Regions from separate parts of the Homo sapiens genome. Here region 1 is linked to region 2. The links are contacts of gene promoters, found by promoter capture Hi-C in human tissues and cell types (Jung and others, 2019). All regions are on one chromosome and are shown on one strand. The core of a region is centred on a gene start or on the middle of the fragment in contact, and the rest is flanking DNA. Distances in the headings are between cores, read along the strand shown.

Region 1 (6,773 bases), core at 318-2,817, 440 kb before region 2:
CCATCTCAAAATAAGTAAATACAAATAAATAAATTACAAATGAAGAATAGTAACGTTACAGTGGGGGAAGCCAGCAGATCCCACCAGAACCAGGTGACCAGGGCCAAAACAACCCATAATGAGGCAAAGCATAGGGCCCGTGAGTCACTACTGCGGACGCTGAGCAGGGTATGGGGCTTCTGCCAGTTTCTTGGCACAGACACATAACTTCGATCCAGACATGATAAAATAGCAAACTCAAACTGAGGGCTGTTCTTCAAAACACCCAGCCAGTGCTCTTCCAAGTGGCAAGGCCATGGGAGGCAAGGAAACACGGGGCCTGCCGTGGGCTGGAGCCTACAGCGAGATGACACCTGCGTGCTCATGGAACTCAGTGTTGTTTCTAAAGCAGGAGGTGGATGTTACCAGAAACTGGAGGAATCTGAATCAAGCTACTGTGTAGTTAATTGCCCCGTGTTAATTCTTAGCCTCAATCCTTGTGGTCAAGGTCGGGTATGCAAGGTGCTGACACGGGAGGAAGCTGCCTGAAGGGGGCGGGGACTCCTGGACGATCTTGGCAACTCTTCCATAAGTCTAACGTTATTTCAGAAAAAAAAGTGTAGTGACATAGCTTAACAAAAAATAAGTGTAAAAAAGCTGAAAAGCAACAGTTAATCCTACGTGAGAGACAACGATGGTTGACTTTCTATACTTGGTGTTTCCCCAAGAAAGAAGCCCCTGGATGCCAGGGTCCCTCCCACTCTACACGTCAGCACGAGGCCGCGGTTCGCTCCCATCATCCGGTTCTAGATGTCAGCACGAGGCCGCGGCTCGCACCTGTCATCTGGGAGTTTCTCCCTCCCCTCCTGCCCACAGGACAACTTCTACTTCTCCTTTGGAATTTCTGAACACAGGAGGCCCTTCTCGGAAGCTCAGCTCTGCCTTCGCCCGCCAGGGCTGTTTCTCCCCTCGAGCCTCTGTCTCCACACCTGTGAAACGGGACGATAAGGGCCCCTTCATGGTGCGGAGGGAGGGCTAAGTTCATAAACGCGTGCAAACGAGGTGAGGACTGGCCGGCACGTAGAGACCCCGTGATGGCTGTCGGCCACCAAACAGACATTCTCCGTGCTCTTCATGCTCTTGCTTATGAGGAGAGATGCTGTGAAGATAAGTTTAAAAACGGCCATGCCATGACAGTTCACAAATAATATTATTCCCTCTGCGAATGCCCTTACCTTCTCTGATGACACTTGTTTCCTATCAACATCGATTTCTGTTGGCTTTCATGCCACCCTCTCTGAATGAGAATTGGGAAGACTCCAATGGCTGTTTTTAACCCCATATTTTTCTGTTCTGTAAACTTCTGTTCATTGCCAGGCTTTGTATCTTCCTTCTTTTAAAAGCGAAAGTGTCCTTTCTCTTCTTGTTTGGAACCTAGAATTGTGTATCGATGCATTTTTGGTGATTTCCCAATAACTAGCTGTGATCCTGCTCCACAGAGCCCTAATGCTTGAGCTCAAACTGTCCGAACCCACACTGCACTCCTTGGAGAAAATGAATGCAGCCTGAATTCTGCTGCTGAGAGTGCCTGGCCGTCCTGGTGGTCACTGACTCACTGGGGTCTGGCCGTCCTGGCAGCTCCTCAGGTCACCGGACTCTGGGGAGGCACCGTGCTGGTTCTGCCTGTGCCTGGTGGGACCCCCTGGTTCCCGGCACTGTCTGGGCCTCGTTCTGAGAGATGACTCCTTCTCACCATTGGTCACCAGACCTGGGCCCTCGGCCACTCGTGGCGTGGCTGAGATTTCAGGTCTCAGAGGACTGTCACCCCCTTCCTCCTATTCAATTTCTGCATGAAGTCTCTAAATCAATAACAGAGAAGGGGAGAGGAAAAAGGAAAGAAAAACTCCCACCTAATGGCCATTTTCAGAGCAGCCGCAGAACCATGTGACACAGCTGACCGAGGCAGCATTGCAGATACATTTGTGTGCCTGCAGATCTCAGGTACACGGACCCGTCTCCATGCTCAGGGGGCCTCTAAAGGGGGTGCAGGCTTTGGGGGCAGAGCAGAGGGGTGTAGGACTCTGGGGAGGCCACGACCACTGAGGGAAGGACCTTGCTATCTCACAAGGCCGAATCCTCCCCAAGGTGGCTGCCGTCTCCCTGGACCCTGCGTTCTGCACCCCCGGGAGGTAGGGAGTTGGATCTCGTACCAACGATGAATGCGTGGACACGTGTGGATGCCGTCCGCTTCCCAGAGTCCCCAGCCGGGCTCCCCAGGGCTCTGCGGGACCCTCTTCCATGCACCTGTGCTGTTTGCTCTCAGGTGGCTGCAAGCAAGTCCCTTTTCTCAGCCAGGCAGGAGGGAGTGGAGGAAGGGCCTGTGTGTCTCCTCAGTTTCAAAGAAACTCCCACGGCAGAGCGTGCTCTTGAACTAAAGCTTGAATGAATCAGAAACATCTGGGCTGTTTTTTCTGTGCTTAAGATACAGGAAACAGACCCATCCAAAGCCGTTTGGGGTTTTATCAAGGGGTCATTTAAGATGCAGAGCAACTTGAAATCGCCCATCTGTTGGAGAGCCGTGCGTGCTGACAGAGGGTAAGAAACTACAGCCCGCGCAGCTGCGGTCTTCATGTGGTCGCTGCACGCAAGGGTTTGCCGTTATCTGTTGCTTCTGAAGGCAAGGGTGAGGGGAGCGGAACTGGGTGTTGCCTGGTTCTGCCGTCAGACCAGGCACTGGGGAGGGAGTCCTGTGGGGAGGTGGGGCCAGGCCTTGTCTCTGTGACAGTGAACGTCCCTGTCCATGTTGGTGTTTCTCAGACAAGCCACCTCCTTCCACCCCCACGGTGGTGCAAGGGGAGGCTTTAGTCCAGGATAACAAATTCTGAACCAGCTGCTGCGTCTGGAGCCCCTGAGGGCTTATGCACTGGTGACCAGGGAGTTTCCTGGCTTATCACATCCGAGGCCGACTTTCGGGCTACAGAGGGGCGTGTGAGCCCCTGGAGTAGACAGAGGAACTGCTTCTCTGCCAGGCGCTGTGTTGAGATGAGAGGGAGGGCAGGTCCTTCGGCTTCTGAAACATGAAACAACCCCACACCTAGGGCAGGGCGTGCAATGCCACCATGGCCTGGAAGACCCAAGAGTGATGAGTGCTGAGCACAGGCCAGGCCCGGGGCTGTCACGGGCAGAGCCACTGGCCCGGCGTGCAGGTGGGAAGGAGGTCTCGGTAACTAAGCATTCGCATGATTCTGTCCTCTGAGGACTGGGGCAGGTGCTTCCTCTACCTCCCAGCAGCCTCCCTAATTCCAGAAGAATAAGAACAGGGGAGAGGAAGCCAGTGCAAGGGCTCCCACCTGCTCCCTCCAAGCCAGAGGTGCTGCCTCGGTTCTTCACTTCCAGCCAGGCCATGCCTAGCAGGCCTTCGTCCAGTCCACGCGTGGCAGCGCTTGGCCTGCCTCAGGCCTGTGTCCTCAGGCATTGTTCCCTCCTGTGTCTGCCCTTGTCTGGGGAGTATTTTCTGTCCTCGCTTCAAGTCCCTGAGAGTCTGCCTGGCACCCTGACCCATTCTGCCAGCCCAGCCAGTCCATACCAGGGAAGCTCCAAGGGTGGGCCTGGGTGGGCCGTGCCCTGGAGGAACACTTCTTGTGGCCCAGATGAACGCCGTGGGTGTGGGGGCCATGTGGACGGTGGTGGGTGAGGCCGGGGGTCCCCACAGCGAGGGCTTGTGGGTCTTGGTGCTGCTTCCATGTGGAGGGGAACTGAGGTCTAAGGTACAGCCCAGGTCCCAGGCCGGGTCACCCCCGTCCACCCTGCCTGTCTTCCGTGTGCTTGGGGAAGTGGAGGCAGCCCTGCCGAGGCCCCACGTCCTCTGTCACCTTTGCAGACTTTGGCACCCCGTGATGCTACCGTCCTGAGTGCCCCGGGGCCTGGCTGGTGTAAGCGTCTTCCTGAATTCCCTCTTTCATTCAAGCTCTAGAATTGGGCGCCACTCTGTGCCAGGCGGCTGGGGCTAGACCCCGCTCCCCGGCTGATGCTGTCCTGCCCCAGGGATGCCTGGCCAGGCTCTTGCTGTGTCCACCACGCTCCATCCACACCCCTCCATCACATTTCACCAGGGGCCCGGGCCAGAGACGCATCCGACATCCCATCTGGGAACAACGGCCTCAAAGAATGGGGAGCAGCGAGGGCCGCCAGACACTGAGTCCTTCTGGATCTTTCTGGCCAGGCTCCTTCCCTGGCATCTGGGCTCGGTGGGGGTGGTCTGCCCCCTCATTCCCGCAGACCCTGGCCCCTGGCAGGGCCCCCAGTCTCCACCTGCCCTGTCTGTTTCCTCCCCAGTGTAACTATGCTGTAGAAATATATTTTGGCCACACCCTGCATGAAGGTTCCAGTCTCTGTGTCTGTGGGAAGGGCTAATCTGCGGCAAGAAGTGGTCCCTGGGATGGAAAGATCCTGACACAACGGAGGTTTGTGTCCTGCTCATGCAACGGCTCTGCCTGGTGAGCCTGGCTTCCTGGCACTCACGCCCTTGCGGTTTCTTCCACGTAGTCCCAGGTGAGTCTGTGCGGCCGACAGCATGCGGCAGAGTGCAGATGGGTCACTTCCGAAACTGGGCTGGACATGCCAGGTCTCCCTCCTGGTTGCTCTGTCTCCTGGGTCACGGGCTTGGGTGAAGCCAGCAGCCATGCCGTGGGAACTCAGGCGACGCGAGAACAGAGCGATCTCCCGAGGTGCACGGGACTCCAGACAACAGCCCGCAAGGACCAAAGCCTGCCAGCAGCTGTGCAGGACCCTCGAAAAGTCTCCTGGGGCCAATAGAGCCCTCACACGGCAGCAGACTCTGGGGGCCTTGGGAGGAGTGGCTGCATTTTGCTGGGAGAATCACAGAATCTCTGGGGCCTGAGGGCCCGGGACGGCCCAGAGACAAGGAGGTACTCAAAGCTGTGTGTCGTCCTCCCATGCCGGGCCAGGTGTGTCCATGTGACCAGAGCACAAGTGGATGCCACTCCTGAGTCCAGGGCCTGAAGGACCCTGTGGCTTCCCTCTGGGTCACTCTGTCTGCCTTGGGTCACTCGTCCTGAAGGAAGCCAGCCACTGCGTGCGGGGCCCTGCGTGGAGAGGCCCTCATGGTGAGGAGACGTCCGGCCCACAGCCACGAGGAGCCGCGACCTGCCAGCACTGGGGGTGAGCTTGGACCTGCCCCTCCAGCCCTGTGGAGGCTTCAGAGCCATGGCCTGGGACAGCTGCTCAGCTGAGCCAGACCCACCCAGCCAAGCCCTTCAGAACCCCGTTGAGTTTGGGGGTCATTTTTCTGCGGCAGTGTGGACCACCAGGAAGGACATCCTTCACGCAGACCCGCCGTGGCAGAGGCTTCACGGTCTCTGGGGCTGTTGTCTCCCCACCAGCTGGCCCACAGGTCCCAGAGGGACACGCAGGAAGACTCTTTCGCCCGTCGGGAGTGGCTCACCTCCCGTCCCCTGGATTCTCTGGAAGGACAGTGGCCTCATGGCCACGCCCGTGTGTGAAGGCTGCTGAGGAGAGCAGCCTGGCTGGGTTCCAGAGGACGAAGCAGGTCAGGAAAGAGACGGAGAAGGGGGAGCAGCTTGGCAAGTGGTCCCACGGTGGGCCCCCAGGGATCTCCCTGGAAGCTGTGGCAGCTGTGCTGCCGTGGAGGGCGCCTTGTCCTCACCAGATCCTGTGGCCTCCCTGGAGGGTGGAGTGTGTGCTGGCACCAAGGTGACGGAAAGGCCCCCCTCCATTACAGCATTGCACACATTTTTAATAGGAAGATACAAAGTGGTGTCAAAGGCCCACTGAGAAGACAGCTGAAGCTTGGCCACCCCACCTCCCACGCAGAGCCAGGCACTAGGGCAGAGGCTCCGGCTCTGAGTCCTGGCACCCCTGGGCCCTCCGTCATCATCACATGGGTGACATGGGAGGAGGTGGCCGAGGTGAGAAGCCCAGCCCATGTGGCCACTGTGAGTTGTGGGTGGGGAGGAGGCCTCTGCAGGAGTGGCAGGGCAAGGGCAGGCAGCAGCAGAGTCGCAGCCCAGGGCTGGCGTGAAGCAAAGCAGGAAAATCACATTATTCAGTTGCTTTAAAAATAACAGCATTTACAGGGCAAAACGGGGTGGCCCAGGTTTAAAAGAAACCACCTGTCTGTTCTGACGGTCAAAGCGTGAGGGAAGCCAGTGGTCCAAGCAGATGGAGGCGTCCGGGTCTGGGCAGGAACGTGTCTGCCACGTGCGGTCTGGGTTCAGGTGAATCAGGGAAGAGGAACCCCAGGGGCAGGAAGTGCTGGGGACGCCCCTGTGAGGCTCTGGGTCCAGCCTGCTGAGAAGGGGTTGCCAGGGGCTGGGGCGGCTGCCTGGACTCCCTGAGAATCCTGCAGCCCGGCTGACCTGGGCGCTCATACCAGGTGGGGTGGGGTGGGGAGGGCACACCAGGCGGGCACACACCCAGTGGGAGGGCACACCGGGAGGGCAGGCACACCGGGCAGGGCAGGCACACCGGGCGGGGGACACTCACTGGGAGGGGGGCCCTCACCACGCAGGGCAGGCACACGGGGGGGACACTCACTGGGCAGGATGGGCACACTGGGTGGGGCGGGCACACCAGGCCGGGTGTGCATGAGACAGCAGCCGCTCTGGAGAAGCGCAAAGCCTTTAGGATCTTAGTGTGATCTCACGTGTGGGTTCACGAGTCCTGTCCCATCCTGGTCATGGTGTCCAGAAAAACAGGACGGCGCATAAGTGGCCCTGCTGCTTTTGTGAGGACGAGGGAGCTTCAGGGGGTGA
Region 2 (6,810 bases), core at 1,459-3,958:
CACACACACACAAGTCTCTGGGTCTTTTTGGCCATGAGGATGTGCAGGTTGTGCACTGTACAATTCCAAGGGGCACGGTTCATACAGTCTGCCTGATATGGATGGTGGCCCCTGCAGTGGTGGGGTGCCACGGCCCTGCCTAAAACCACGACCCAGTTAGAGGGAGGGTTTTGTGGCTCCAGTCCGAGGGTAGGGGAGTGGGTGTGCACACCCTGTATAATCCCCTAGACTGGCTTCTGCATGAGGCTGGCATCCTCAAGGCCATGCCCATCACAGGCTGGGGCAGCGCCCGTCTGCCCCGAGCCCTCCAGCAACCTTGGAGTGCAGACGCATTTCATCCTCCAAATGCTCACAGATTGAGATGCTGCCAAACAGCCACACTTCTCACCTGTGCAGGGACTCGTGGGCAGTGGGGTGTGCCCTGGCAGGACTCGTGGGCAGTGGGGTGTGCCTTGTTCTGGCCACGCCACTTCAGGGGCTCATTGCCTTTCTATTCTCCATGAGGCAGCCCTTCCTGCTGTGGGGGGCAGTGGAGGTGTGGGCAGCACACTACCTGATGGCCAGCGCCTGGCACTGGTGTCTGTTCTGGATTTGTCCTTCCAGGCAGTGACACTGCTCTTCTGCCCTTTGAACAGCTTTGTGGAGAAAGGTTGTCGGCTCTTAGGACAGGCTGGTTGGGGGGTGGGGTGGCCGGAGGTCCAGTGGGCATCATGGAACACACTGGTCTGGTGGAAATTTGGCCTTCCTGTGGAATGCAAGGGCAACATCTTCAGAGAGGACGTCGTTCCTAACGGCTCCACCCAGGAACCATAAGGAAAGAGCAGGGAAGCTCCGGACTGGAGGGAATCCTGTTCTTGTCCTGCTGGCTTTTTCTCTGGGACAAGAGGCTGGGAGTGGAGTGGGGGACAGAGACAGGTGGGGCAGGGACACAGGCCAAGAGCGACTCCGATGCTCCCACCTCGCAAGACCATACTAGTGGCCAGTCACACACTTCCACTCCCCCGGTGCCCTGTCCAGACCCTGCAGTGGCCCAGGCCAGGGCTGCCCTCCCTCCACGCCACTCAGCAGCCGAGTCACCAGGCGAGCACCATCTGAATGCACCTTCCCTGTGCTACACGGGCCACTTCCATTAGCATGAAACTGGGGCCCTTGCAGGGTGAAGTCATTGAACTCAGCACTGTCCTCCTCAGGCCTCCGCAGCCCCCACTCAGATGTCAGAAGACACATCCATCCTCCATCTGCACCCACCCCACCGCCCACCTGCCCTTTGTCCACCTATCTGTCCTTCCATCCATCTATCATCCATCCGCTCAGCCACTATCTTGCGAGTGCTATTGTGTGCCCAGCTATCTTCCAAGCTCCTGGGATGTATGCATGAGCCCCTTGCTCGTGGAGCAGACATTCCCAGGGTGAGGGCAGACAGCTCAAGGTCAAAGCCAGCAGCCCCCAGGGCTGGGAGGTGAGCTGATTCCCGGAGCCAACCGAGTAAGCAGGGGAGGCGGGAGCTTAGCTGCCACAGTTGTGAGCTGAGTGGGTATCGGGTGGGACCAGAAGGTGGCATTGGAGCCAAGCCCCTGGGGAGCTGAGGAAGGGAGCACACAAGAGCCGTCCAAACAGAGGGAGCAGGGCGTGCAAAGGCCCCGAGAGGCGCCGATTGCTGGTGTGGGCCGTGGAGTGCATGGGGGTGGGGGTCAGGCAGTGGCTGGGGTCTGAGCTCCCGGGAGACGTTGAGCCTTTCCTCTGAGAGGGAGGGTCCCAATAGGAGGGACTGAAGGGGCAGGTAGAGGGCCGAGCAGGAGCCTTTGCAGGTGGCTGCAGGCTCCCAGAAGCCGCTGGTTTTGTGCACATTTTGAAAGTAGAGCAGATATGCTAAGAGCTTGGAAACCTTGTGAGCGAAAGAAGTCCACCTGCGTCCCAGGTCTGGGGCTGGAAGGCTGCAGGGTGGGCTTGGAGGAAAACAGGGGTGTGGTTTGCACAGTGGAGCCTGAGATGCTTAAGAGAGCCAGTGCTGCCGGAGCGGGCTGTGGGCAGAGGCCCCGCATCCGTGTGAAGCCCTGGGGGTATCGAATTGTTTTGGGCGGAGGTCTAAAGGCAGGGGATGGGGCAGGGGAGACCACGGGGGCCCCTGGGCTCCCATCTCAGAGCCTGGGGTGGGGGATGCTGGCTGGCGATGGGAGGGGCAGAGAGACTTACCAGCGCACCACGCAAGGCCTGGGCGCCCCCGAGTTCTGGTAAGTGGCCGGTCCGGCTGTGGAATGCAGGTTCCTGCTGAAGACAATAGCGAGGGGCTGTGTGAAGACACACCTGGGGCCCCTGTGCACCCTTGGGCCGCCCTGTGGGGTCTGCGCAGCCCCAGGCCCTGCGTTTATGAAGGAGGGTTGGGGCGAGCGCACCCACAGCTGCCCGGGCATCCCAGGAGCTGCGCGGAACCGCCTGTCCCGCTGCCCCGCGCTGTGCTCCCCACGCCCCAGGAAGGCGGCCGCGCAGTCCCGGGCTCGCTCTTGCCGCGACCTCCCGGACCTCCAGGCCGCGGGCTCCGGGGGAGGGTGGGCACCAGGGAGCGCGGGGTGGGCGTGCGCGGGCGGGGCGGGCGTGCCGGGAGCTGCGGCGGTGTCTGCGCTCGCGAGTGCGCGGCGGGGGCGGGCAGGCTCCGCCCCGGGGCGGGAGGGGGCCGCGGGATTAAAGGCCACCCCGGCGGGCGGGGATCGGACTGTAGCCGGTACCGGCACCGGAGCGCGCCGGGTCCTCGCCGGGTCCCAGCCCCGCGCGTCGGCCCAGCCCAGCCGGGACCCCCCGCGACATGCGCGTCCCAGCCCTGCGCTGAGCAGGCGGCAATGTGGGGACTCGGGGCCCGGGGCCCCGACCGGGGGCTGCTGCTGGCGCTGGCGCTGGGCGGGCTGGCGCGGGCCGGGGGCGTCGAGGTGGAGCCCGGCGGCGCGCACGGCGAGAGCGGGGGCTTCCAGGTGGTCACCTTCGAGTGGGCCCACGTGCAGGATCCCTACGTCATCGCGCTCTGGATCCTCGTGGCCAGCTTGGCCAAGATCGGTAAGTGGCCCCGGGGTCTCCGGATCTGCCCGCGGGGTGTGCGGCCGCCTCTGCTGGGCCTGGGGGCTTCGTTGTGGCCGCGCGCATCAGGTCGGAGCCGCGCGGCGGCCGCCCGGGAGAGTCCGGCTCTCGGGTCCAGCAGAGCGAGACTCGGGAGCGACTCTGGCCGCGCTAAGCCGCCCCTGCGGGTCCCGAGGTCTCCCCTCCCCGGCGGGGGCACAGCCTCGGAGCCCCGGACTCCCGGCTCCCGGGTCCCTGTGGGGTCTCCGCCCCGCCTCCGCTCCGAGCCCCGCAGACTGCAGGCTGCTCGCGCCCAGGGAGTCCCCGGGGCCGGGTTTCCTTCGGGGTTCTCAGGCTTTTTAGAGAAACGTCCTTGGAGTGATGGCGTTTTTTCGTGAGTTACAAGGGCAGAAAAGAAAAGCGGTGCTACCCGCATGAAACCCAGCAGAATCCTCCCTACAGGCGCAGCGTTCCCATTGGCGGGCCTCCTTTTTTTTTTTTTTTTTTAGAAAATCCCGGTCGGTCAGATTTCTCTTCTTCTTAACCGGCGCCAATGAACCAGTAATGTGGGCACGGCAGGTAGCTCCTGGCAAGGTGACAGGAAGGTCAGCTTCCTGAGGAGCTCGTGGGGATCAAAGTTTCATGTGTTGGTCCACAGGGTAGGGTCTCTCCAGGGGTGGCAGGGAGGTGGTCACTCGTGTGGAGGGGGGATTAGGGGGCCCGAGTGGGGCCAGGAGAAGCAAGATCAGAGCAGCAGGCGCCGCGGCAGGTTTCCAGAGCAGCTTTGGACTGGGGCGAGAGGAGGTTTCGATGCTGGGGCCGAGGAGGGGCGCCCACGCAGGACAGGGGAGGGACAGGCTCCGGGGAGAACAGCTGAGAGGACCTTGGCCTTGGTGGAACCTGGTACGCCCAGCAGGCTTGATTGGAGAAGGCGCCTTTTCCTTCAGTGACGCCTGCCGCCTGCCCTATTTATGCCAGGGTCTCCCCTCCCCTTCAGGCCCCTTGTGTGTTTGCTTTCTGTCTCATAAGGGCTCTTCTGAGCCCTCCCGCCTCCTCCCTTCTCCGCAGCCTCCTCCTCGCCCTGGTGTCTTTCAGCTCCCCGCCGGGCTGCCTGCTCTCCAGGCTCAGGCTGTCCTCCCTGGGCTTTCCACTGGGGGCTTGGGATGCTGGCCGGGGGGGAGTCTCTGAGGCTGGCTGCCTCCTACAGTTGATTTCCTTGAGAAGGGCCCCTGGGGCATCAGGGAGGTCCAGACTCAACCTGGGCTCTGCGGCCGCCCAGTCCTAAAGCTCACCCTGCTTTCCTCTGACGGGAGTGCCCCCCTGGTGTAAACTGAAAAGGTAATTTCTTTTTTTTTCTTTTTTTTTTTTTTTTGAGATAGAATTTTGCTCTTGTTGCCCAGGCTGGAGTGCAATGACGCGATCTCGGCTCACTGCAACCTCCACATCCTGCCTCAGCCTCCCGAGTAGCTGGGATTACAGGCATGAGCCACCACGCCCAGCTAATTTGTATTTTTAGTACAGACAGGGTTTCTCCATGTTGGTCAGGCTGGTCTTGAACTCCAGACCTCAGGTGATCCACCCGCCTCGGCCTCCCAAAGTGCTGGGATGACAGGCGTGAGCCACCGCGCCCGGCCGTGAATATCTAATTTCTGTACAAGCTGGGGCCTCTCCCAGTTTAGCCCAGTGTACAGAGTCAGAATCTGGCATCTGAAGGTCCAATGACAGCCGCCAGGCACCAGCCAGCCCCGCCTGGGAGCCGGCAGATAAGGCACACTGACCAGGGCTTTGCCTGGCCTCAGAGTTTGTTATTCACAGGGAAAAGCCTTCAGGTCTCCCAAACACTTGGACTGGTTCTGGGAAGACGTCCTTGAGGGCGGGGAGGCTGCCGGCTCCAGCAGCAACTCCCCGGGGCAGGGCGGTCCTTTACAAAGGCCCACCCTGATAGCACTCAGCGGCTGTCTTTGTCTCGGATTGTTGGCTCCACCTGGGAAGGCGAGCCTTACCCTGTGCAGCTGTGGGAGCTCATCGCGGTATCCCACAGGCGCAGACCCTCTCCAGACCTGCCCTTTACGCTCCCTGTCGTCCCCTCAACCCACTGTGCACTCTGCAGCCCCGGCAGTGACAGCTGAGGTCTGCTCTGGGTCTGCCCGGATTGGCCCCCAGGGTGTCCCACCCTCCATCCCCTCTCTGCCAGCCACACCTCTTGAACACAGCCCCCAGCCCTCCCTGTGTGCTTCCTCCCCCAACCCCTTCCCTGTGAACTCTGGACTTCTCAGATTCCACTGGCCCAGACCGTCCTCCTTGTGCAGCCAGCCTCAGGTGCACGACCTGTGTTCCCAGAGGACCCTCAGGTCCAGGCCTTCACAGACACCGGGGCCCAAGCCTGCACCACAGCGGGAACTTCTCCAGTTTCACCCAGCCTCCTCCACATGCCCACAGCCCCCGGACTGGGGTCTGAACCTACTAAGCTGCTTGGCACATTTTGTTGTTTAAAATGGTCAGGGGTTGGCCACACTCTTTCAGTCTCAAGTTACACGAACAGAAATGTCTCTTCCAGCAGAAAAGAGCTGCCATTCCTGTTGCTTTTCCAAACATTTGTTGAATTTCTCACACATCCTGAGAGTTTCTAACTCACAGCCCCAGCCTTCTTCAAGCCATTTGTAACCTGGTTGGGGAAATAAGAGTCCGGGTACCCTGAAACCCACAGCAATGTTGATCCCAGGAGATTTCTACTCCAGGCAGCTTGGGACAGAGGATGGCCAGAGGGCCAGAGCTGCCTCAAGCAAACACTGGGGCTGGGGCCTCAGCAGGTGGCCCAGGAGCCTGGGCAAGGAACAGGTGCTGCTGTTGGCCCACCAGCCTCAGGCCGCGTGTCTGGCTCCGGCAAGGGCTCCCCACAAGCCCCCTATTTGTGTGCACTGGGGTTCCCCTGCCTTTTACAGCATCTTTTTAAAATGCAGAAGGGGAGGCAAGGGCCGAGGCCACGGAGCCACTCCACAGCGCAGACCTCCCAGACTGAGAGGACGAGGAAGTCTTTAGCAGTGGAGGCGGCAGGGCCTAGTGTCTGCCTCAGGCAGGGTGAGGGGGCTTCCTCCTGTGCCCCTTGGGGGCCCCCAGCCTGCAGCCACCCGCACCAGGGCCACTCTAGGCCTTAGGTGCCCACCAGAATCCCCGCCTCACCCTGCACCGTCCGTGTTGGGAACCCTGGGCCAGGCTTTCCTTCCTTCCTGGGCTTCCTCTGGGGGCTGAGGCTGTGCCTTGCAGAGACTGCCAGGCCTGGCAGCACTGGGTGGGGGCCCTGGGGTGGGATCCAGGCAGTGGCAGGTGTCAGGACTGCAAGCAATGGGCCCCTGGAAGGAGAGGGAGGCGGGGGTGTCAGAAGCCAGAGGAGGAGGCCTAGGGTGGGTCCCTGGGGAGGCAGAGGGAGGCCCGAGCAACTCAGCTACAGGCCTTGGAGGACTTTGGTCCCCACCTAGCGTCGTGGTGAGGAGTGGATGTGGTCAGATCTGAGTTCTCAGACGACTGCCTGGCCATGGGGCAGAGAATGGCACCGGGGAGATTCCGGGAGGATGGTGGGGAGCTTCCCTTGGGCATCAGGGCGGTGGACAGCAGGGCCTCCTTGAAGCAGGAGTGGGGATGTCACAGGGTCATCAGTGACACAGCAGGGGCCAGACCTCCTGGCCCCATCCTGTTCTCAACCCTTCGGGGGGCTCTGCTGCGCTGACCTCGCCCTGCAGCTCTGAGCCACACATGAGCGACAGGACC

The links. The method cuts DNA at HindIII sites, captures the fragments that hold promoters and counts their contacts. A contact is called where the count stands out against the background at its distance.
Region 1: a contact is called between a fragment that was not itself captured here and the fragment with the promoter of SLC9A3 in region 2, in 1 of the 25 tissues and cell types used here (lymphoblastoid cells).

What each region holds. Positions count from the first base shown.
Region 1 is chr5:959,900-966,672 of GRCh38, reverse strand. LOC124900931 (a long non-coding RNA gene) reads left to right here and starts at 2,512. Exons shown (of 2, transcript XR_007058676.1): 1 at 2,512-2,574; 2 at 3,947-4,355. RefSeq lists enhancers at 836-1,337, 2,924-3,083, 5,758-5,997. The HindIII fragment of the contact is 5,091 bases long and covers 1-4,112 here.
Region 2 is chr5:520,347-527,156 of GRCh38, reverse strand. SLC9A3 (solute carrier family 9 member A3) reads left to right here and starts at 2,708. Exons shown (of 17, transcript NM_004174.4): 1 at 2,708-3,045. The coding sequence starts at 2,835. LOC107986395 (a long non-coding RNA gene) reads right to left here and starts at 2,499. Exons shown (of 2, transcript XR_001742543.1): 1 at 2,194-2,499; 2 at 1-745. RefSeq lists an enhancer at 509-1,141. The HindIII fragment of the contact is 12,710 bases long and covers 1-6,810 here.